Linked DNA regions of Homo sapiens: region 1 is linked to region 2. The links are contacts of gene promoters, found by promoter capture Hi-C in blood cells and fetal thymus (Javierre and others, 2016). All regions are on one chromosome and are shown on one strand. The core of a region is centred on a gene start or on the middle of the fragment in contact, and the rest is flanking DNA. Distances in the headings are between cores, read along the strand shown.

What was found. Contacts are between HindIII fragments. The CHiCAGO score rates a contact against its expected background, and 5 or more counts as called.
Region 1: a contact is called between a fragment that was not itself captured here and the fragment with the promoter of KIAA2012 in region 2, in 1 of 17 cell types (M2 macrophages). The highest score is 5.4, in M2 macrophages.

What each region holds. Positions count from the first base shown.
Region 1 is chr2:202,175,064-202,179,138 of GRCh38, forward strand. The region is part of intron 15 of KIAA2012; the gene reads left to right. Among named protein-coding and RNA genes, the nearest start is that of KIAA2012-AS1, 60 kb to the left of the region's middle. The HindIII fragment of the contact is 6,218 bases long and covers 1-4,075 here.
Region 2 is chr2:202,070,179-202,074,685 of GRCh38, forward strand. It overlaps KIAA2012, which reads left to right and starts at 3,077. Exons shown (of 24, transcript NM_001277372.4): 1 at 3,077-3,533. The coding sequence starts at 3,450. The HindIII fragment of the contact is 5,257 bases long and covers 1-4,507 here.

The sequences.
Region 1 (4,075 bases), core at 462-2,961, 100 kb after region 2:
TTAAATCTCATTGAATTTATAAGTTCCCTTCCATTTCTTTTTTTTCCCCCTTTTAGTGTATTTGTAGGAAATTGGGTCACTTGTCTTGTTGAGTTTCAATCTAGACTTTGCTGATTGCGTCCTCATAGTGTAGTTTAACATGTTTCTCTGTCTTCCACATGTCCTGTAAGTTAACACTTGGGTCTAGAAACTTGATCAGATTCCGGTTTGGTTTGGTTTTTCCTTTTGGCAGTCTATAAATTCAGTGCAATTTCAATTTTAAAAATCCCCAACAGGGTTTTTGGCAGAACATGATTAGCTGATATTAAAATTCATATAGAAAAGCCAGAAATAGTTGTCATGGTCTGAATGTTTGTGTCCCCCAAAAATTCACATGCTGAAACCTCATCACCAATGTAAAGGTATTTGGAGGTTGGGCCTCTGGGAGGTGATTAAGTCATGAGGGCAGAGCCCTCATAAATGAGATTAGTGCCTTTACAAAAGAGGCCCCAGAGAGCTATCTTGCCCCTTTTATCATGTGAGGACACAAAAGAAGGTGCCCTCCATGAACCAGAAAGTGAGACTTCCCCAGACACTGAATGTCCCCAGACACTGAATGTTCCAGCACCTTGATCTTGAACTTTCCAGCCTCTAGACCCACAAGAAATAAATTTCTGTTGTTTCTAAGCTACCCAGTTTATGGTATTTTGTTATAGCAGCCTGAACAGACTAAGATATTAGCCAGTATAATTTTGAAAAAAAATAAAGTGGAAGTTTGCCCTGACAAATATAAAAACTTATTTTAAAGCTGTAAAAAATAAAACTGTGTGCTATTGGCTTAGAGACAGACAGAAGAGAATAGAGAATCCAGAAATAAATGTGCCCACATATGGAAACTTGATATATGGCAATGGCATTATAAAGGGAAATAGTGGAGAAAGGATGATCTATTATTCACTATATAATTTTGAGACAACTGGTTATGCAATTTTAAAATTCTCACCTCACAAAATATCAGGTGTATTCAGGAGCTTAATGTCAAAAAGCAAAATTTAACTTTTAGAGGAAAATATAGCAGAATATTTTTATGAATTTTGGAAAGGAAAAAACTTTTTACCTATTATTCATAACACAAACCATAAAGAAAATTATTGATAAATCTTTTTTTTTTTTTTGGGACGGAGTCTCGCTCTATTGCCCAGAAAGTGCAATGGCATGATCTTGGCTCACTGCAACCTCTGTCCCCTGGGTTCAAGCGATTCTGCTGCCTCAGCCTTCCAAGTAGCTGGGATTACAGGTGTGTGCCACCAGGCCCGGCTAATTTTTGTATTTTTAGTAGAGACAGGGTTTCACCATGTTGGCCAGGCTGGTCTCAAATTCCTGAACTCAAGTGATCAGCCTGCCTTGGCCTCCCAAAGTGCTGGGATTACAGGTGTGAGCCACTGTGCCCCGCCAATGAATCTGACTATATTAAAGTTTGAAGTTTTCAACAAGACAACATGAAGTTAAAAGCCAAATTGCAGATTAGAAGGAGATACCTGCAATGCATGTAACCAACAAAGCATTAGTAACCAAAATGCAGCAGCATTTCTTCCCTCTACAAATAGGGAAAGAAAAAGACAATCAACCCAAAGGAAAAATGAGCAAATGATGTGAACAGGCAACTAACAGAAGAAGAAACACAAATAAATGGCCATAGAGAAAAAAAAGTTCTCCTTACTAATCAGGAAAATCCCAGTTAAAACAAAAAGATATCATTTCATATATATCAGACCAGCAAAAGTTTAAAAGTCTATAAACACTATTAATGAGGATATAAAGTTTTAGTAATTTAGAGCAATTTGAAAATATTCAATAAATTGAAGATGCATATATCCTGCATCCCAACAAGTTCATTCCCAGGTATCCTTTAGAGAAAGCATGTATGAACAGTGACTCACCTAAAAAGGTTCATTGAAACATTATTAATAATCATAAACAATTGGAAATAATCAAAATGGCCACCAATAGTAAAATGGATTTTTAAATGGTCACATATTTATACAACGGAATACTATATGATAGCTGAAAATAAAATTACATGTATTAATATGGGTTAATCCCAAAAGACTTATTAAGGGTTTTTTGCCTTATTAAGCAAAATAAGGCAAGTTGAACAAGTTACATAAATAATATCATTTATGTAAAGTTTTAATTTGTAAAAAATACTATATATTGTTTACATGTGCATGTATATGTAATACAGATATAAAAATATATATGAGGATTGATGAATATCAAATTGAAGAGACTGATTACCTCTGGGAGGGAGAGGGAAATGGGATTATATGTGTCTTAATCCATTTTGTGATGCTATAACAGAATGCCTGAGATTGGGTAATTTATGAAGAACAGAACAGTCTCCCACAGTTCTGGAGGCTGAGAAGCCCAAGATCAAGATGCAGGTTTCTTACTGTGTCCTCACGTGGTGGGAGGCAAAAAGGCAAAAGAGAGGGAACTCATTCCCACAAGCCCTTTTTCTTTTTTTAGAGATGGGGTCTCTCTATGTTGCCCAGGCTCAACCTGAATTCCTGGACTCACACTATCCACAGCCTCAGTGTCCCGAGTAGCTGAGACTACAGGTGTGCATCACTGTGCCCAGCCCACAAACCCTTTTTATAGCAGCATTAATCCATTCATGAGGATGGAGCCCTCCATGACCTAAACACTTTTTATTAAGCCCCACCTCCCAACACTGCTGCATTGAATATTGATTGAGTTTCCAACACACAAATTTTGAAGGAGACGATAACATTCACACCATAGTAGCATGTGATAAATGAAGTCTTGGACTGTGTCTTAAATGTTTGATTTCTTTAGAAAATGCATGACTTAGGCTGGGCACAGTGGCTCATGCCTGTAATCCCAGCACTTTGGGAGGCCAAGGCAGGCAGATCACTTGAGTTCAGGAATTTGAGACCAGCCTGGCCAACATGGTGAAACCCTGTCTGTAGTAAAAATACAAAAATAAGCTGAGCATGGTGGCGTACACCTGTAATCCCAGCTACTTGGGAGGCTGAGGCAGGAGAATTGCTTGAACCTAGGAGGTGGAGGTTGCAGTGAGCTGAGATGGTGCCATTGCACTCCATCCTGGGCAACAGAGTGAGACTCTGTCTCAGAAAAAGAAAGAAAGAAAGAAAGAAATGCATGACTCAAATATGGCAAAATGTTAAAATTTTACAAAACTAAGTGGCAATGAGTATACAGTATTTTTCCTATACTGTGAACGCTTAAGATATTTTATAGACTTTTAAAAAGTACTTAAAAGTTGTAAGTTATTCAAAGCACTGACTTCGTTTGTTCCAATACTTCCTAAATATCAGGTTATTTTACTAAGAGAAAAAAAAAATCACCCTTCTATGGCCCACATCCCAAAACTGGGAAGGTTTCAATTCTAATCACAATGGAAGTTTCACCAATGTACAACCTCAGCTTTTGGTCAATACAAATACGCCCTCTGCTGGTTCTATCATGCCCTGTCCCAGAGTTCAAAATAGTTGAGAAGAGCAGTGAAAGTCTTCAGTGAGAGTTTTTTCGCGCCAGTCATGTTAAGGAAAGAAATACTCACAGAACTACCCTTTGGCACCAAGATACTTTAATCAGCTTCTGCTCTCTGTTAATGTTACATATTATCCAAGACAAAATAAATTCCAAGGTGCAGCCCCAGTCAACCTTTCCAATTCCTCAACCACCTTTGCGCGTTAACAATCTTGTGCCCCTCTAAAGTCTGGTGGTTGATTTGAGAGACAGTGGACACCTCCCTGAACCTGAGTAGAAGTAGAAGAAAACCAAAGTTGCAAAGAAGCTCCTGGGCGGGGAAACCACAAAATAACATTGAAAAACAGATTAACTGTAGTATTAAGGGAATGATGCCAATGGAATAATGGGTGAACTTTTTCTTTTCAAATCTTTCTTTAAAAGTATAACATCTTCAAATAAAACTGAGAAGAAATAAATTAATTCATGCAAGAATCTACTTCTCAAGAGAGAAAGGCACTAATTGAATATTAGAGTCTTCCTTTCAAAAACAGTTTTGTGTTTTGAGGTTGGTTTTGTT
Region 2 (4,507 bases), core at 1,827-4,326:
GTACAAATGACTCACGCCTGTAATCCCAAGGTAACAAGGGCAACATTAAGGACTCTCCTTATAGATTGCCCCTAAAGATGAATAAAATACTAGAAAACATGATTACACTTCCTTTTAAAGAGGGATAAAGGTTCTGACAGTATCACATAGGCCACTTCTCCAGAGTGGCATTCATTTACTCCAAGCATTTTGGAACAAGGGATACACTCCTGAATGTGCTGGGAGGTGGCCATTGAACAGCATCTATTTTCTGTTTCATGTGGTTTCTATTTGCGAAGCTGAGGCAGAAGGATCGCTTGAGCCCAGAAGTTCGAGACCATCCCGGGCAATGTAGTGAGACCCTGCCTCTAAAAAACAAAACAAAACAAAAACAACAACAACAACAAAAACCTACCTGAAGAATAAAATTCAAAATGCTTCAGCACGGTATATGCAGCCTTCATGGCCTTGGCCAGCTGACCTTTGTCCTTGCATCTCTGTCCACATGACCTGCAGTTTTGTTTTCTTTTTTGTTTCTATTTTTGTTTTGAGATGGAGTCTCACTCTGTCGCCCGGGCTAGAGTGTGCCATCTCGGCTCACTGCAACCTCCACCTCCCCAAGCAATTCTTATGCCTCAGCCTCCCAAGCAGTTGGGATTACAGTTGGGATTCCTTCTTAAGGCACACCACCATGCCTGGCTAATTTTTGTGTTTTTAGTAGAGACGAGGTTTCACCATGTTGGGCAGGCTGTTCTCCTCCTGACCTCAAGTGATCCACCTGCCTTGGCCTCCCAAAGTGCTGGGATTACAGGCATGAGCCACCACAACCAACCGGAAAAAAATTTTAATTGTAGTAAAATATATGTAACATAAATTTACTTTCGTTTTAGAGATGAGATCTCACATTGTCACTAAGGCTGAACTCAAACTCACGGGCCCAAGGGATCTTCTTGCCTCAGCCTCCGGAGTAGCTGGGATGACAGGTGTGTGCCACTGCACTGGCTCAAATGGACCATTTTAACATTTTTAAGTTTACAGTTCATTGACATTAAGTACATTCATATTGTTGTGAATCCACCTTCAGAACTTTTTCATCTTCTCATACTGAAACTCTGTACCCACTATACACTGATGTTCCATTCCCCTCTCCCTGACAGCCCCTGTCAATTACCATTCAACTTTCTGTCTCTGTGAATCAGACCACTCTAAGTACTTCACATAAGAGAAATCATACAATGTTTGTTCTTTCATGATTGGCTTATCTTGTTTAGTGTAATGTCTTCAAGGTACATGCGTGTTGTAGCATATGTCTGAATTTCCTTCCTTTTTTTTTTTTTTTTTTTTTTTTGAGATGGAGTCTCACTCTGTTGCCCAGGCTGGAGTACAGTGGCATGATCTCGGCTCACTGCAACCTCCGCTTCCCAGGTTGAAGCGGTTCTCCTGCCTCAGCCTCCCAAGTAGCTGGGACTACAGGCGTGTGCCACCACACCTGGCTAAATTTTTATTTTTAGTACAGACGGGGTTTCATCAAGTTGGCCAGGCTGGTTTCGAACTCCTGACCTCAGGTGATCCGCCCACCTCGGCCTCCCAAAGTGCTGGGATTACAGGCATGAGCCATGGTGACCAACTGAATTTCCTTCCTTCTTAAGGCTGAATAATACTGCATTGTATGCATATGCTACATTTTGTTGATTCATTCATCTGTCGATGGACACTTGAGTTACTTCCACCTTTTGGCTCTTATAAACAGTTTTGCTCTGCATATGAGTATACAAATATCTCTTTGAGACCCTGCTTTCACCTCCTTTAGGTATACAGACCCAGAAGTGGAATTACTGGTGATACGGTAATTCTGTTTAATTTTCTTAGAAACTGTCATACCATTTCCTACAGAGGCTGCGCCATTTTGCATTTCCAACAGCAATGCACAAGGTTTTCAATTTCTCCGTATCTTCACCAAATACTTGTTATTTTCTGTTTTTGTTTTTGTTTTTTAATAATAGCCATCTTAGTAGGTGTGAAGTGGTATCTCATTGTGGTTTTGATTAAATTCTGTTTGGAGCCTCTGCATTCACTCATTCGCTGTCTTGATTCCCCCTAATAAACCCTATTTTATTTTACAACAGAACCTCTATTTCTTTCTCAGGAGACTTGAACTTGGTTGGGGGTGGAGGGGTCAGAGGGGGAGGGGAAAGTGCCACATAGGAAGATCAAAAAGGTAAGTGGGCTTGTAGCCTGTTGTGCTTCTTCATATAGGCCAGCAGTGGGCACTCCCACAAGACTGCCAGGGTAGTTCAGCTGACAGCTAACAGGCAGCTTGCTTTTCCAGGCTTGAGCAGGTTCCTAGATCCCCAGCAAAGGGGTCTTTTTGTTTCCTGACCCTCTTCCCTCCTGTCTGTGCTCGTCACAATGTCACTGTTAAAGAGACCCAAGCATCCCAGGCTACACAGTGCTTCTCAAAGCAGGTGCTCCTGGCATTCTAGTGGGACAGTTCATCACTATGTGGGAATTTCACACCATGTAGAACATTTAGCATCTGGGGCCTCTGCTTGATCAATGCCAGCAAGACCCCCAATCATTGCAACAACCAAAATGTCCCCCACCCACATTTCCAGAGCACCCCCATCAGGGGATAGCTTGCCCAGTTGAGAACCAGGTATGCAAAGGAAGCTAGAGAATCCCAGTGTCTCCCGCTCAGGCAAAGCAGCAACTACCATAATGAGGTCTCGTGTCCAGTTGAGGGGATGATGGAGCTCAGCCAAGGAAAAAGTCACAGGTGGTTTTAGGTGACCTAGATTACACCCTGGCTCTGTTAATGGTTAGTTGACAGTGACAGGCTCACATATCAGGAGAGAGGGGAAGACGCTCTCTAAAAACAAGATGAGAACAATAACAGAAAAAGTACCCCAACAAGTCCCCCACCCCATGCAACTGGGACTTGCAACCTGAGCCTGGTCCCTTCAGTGTCCATTTGACCCCCACCCCCATCCCCGGGGAATGCACACTGCACCCGGCACCCGTCTCTGCCTTGCCTGGGTTAGTTTAAGGGACTTCATTTCCCTGTGCTGCCATAGCAACCAGGAAACAACCTCCGCTCAGACAAGAAGGATGGTGCTGTGGCCGAGATCTGTAGATGCACACGGCTGGTAACAGAGCAACCGGGACCAAGGGACAACAAGAGCTCAGGAGAAGGGGAGAGACAGGTCGCCCAGAGAGTAGACAATCCAGGGCTTGAGGAGGCTGGCTGTGCGGTTTATTTTTTCTCTCCACAAAGACACACACTGTCTAAACTGTGTGGCTGGTTGTTACTAAGAAGCTGCTGCGAGAGGGAAAAATGTATTTAATAAAAGGCCCTGTGTTTGTGGTCTTCTTGGGCTTGCTGTGAGCTCTGGAAATCTTGAGGTGTGACCAGATTTCAGCCTTCAAAACCAAGATGGACTGCCCTTGAGAAGGGGTGGTCAGAGGGAAACATGTTCACGCTCTCCCTCCTGAGCCGGGGCCACGGGAAGCTGGGCCAGGACAAACAGAAGTTAGAAGTCTACTTTGAACCAGAGGTGAGTCCCACAGCTGAAGAAAGGCACATTTTGGAGGTGGGAGAGGAATGCTCTATGTTTCCACTTGGGAGGTAAACCATGTGTGTCTTGGTTTGTGTTGTTAGTGAGGTGGCGGGGTCACTGGAAGATCTTCCTTCCTCCTTCATGAAACTCAAGAAAATAACATCATTTTCCTGACACACCGAGATTGCCCCTGAGGCCCTCATCTTTCCCCTTGTAGCTGTCTTTGCTTGGACCAAAGGAGATTCCAGATTGTCTGGAATTTGGATGGTTTGGTGCAAGACCAGAATTTCCACCTGGGTTCTAGGCAAACTGATGGTTGTTTGGTTTTTGGAAGTCGTGCTCTGCAGTTGAAATGCTGTGTGTGTTCATGCCATTTCAATGGCTTCCTTGAACTTTCTGGAATTCAACCCACAGGACTCATATTTAATATAGGCCAAAAAAAAACCCACCTCATTTTAGAAGATTTTAAAGAGGTGGCAAAATTCCCTTGTTATACTAGATTTTTATTTCACTTGAATCCTGCCAGGGATAAGAAACCTATTGGGGATACTTTGCAAATTTGGGGGTCATACAGAGATTTCCATTGTCATGGTACTTTGTCATGATATTTGACCTTTGCTGTGTTAAACGGCATATAAAGTTTCAAAGGACCTGTATGGCCAATGGCATTTTCTTACCTACAAGATATGTAACTGCTTTATAGGCCCCTAAATAGCCAAATTAGGTAATGTTACATAGCATCTGGAATGTATAGAAATTCTCCCCACGTACAGCTGAAGTGGTGGTGGCTTGGAATGCTCCTATTTAAACTGCCAGCTAGTCCAGGTCTAATTTCAAAGTTATCTGCTGCCCTTAATAATTCTGACCACTTACTTGCATACCAGGAAACTTTAACTGGCCTGTAACCTACATACAAGCTGAGTTAATCCTCCAGCCATACATGACTCTCCTGAAAGTTGTATGGGGTGAAA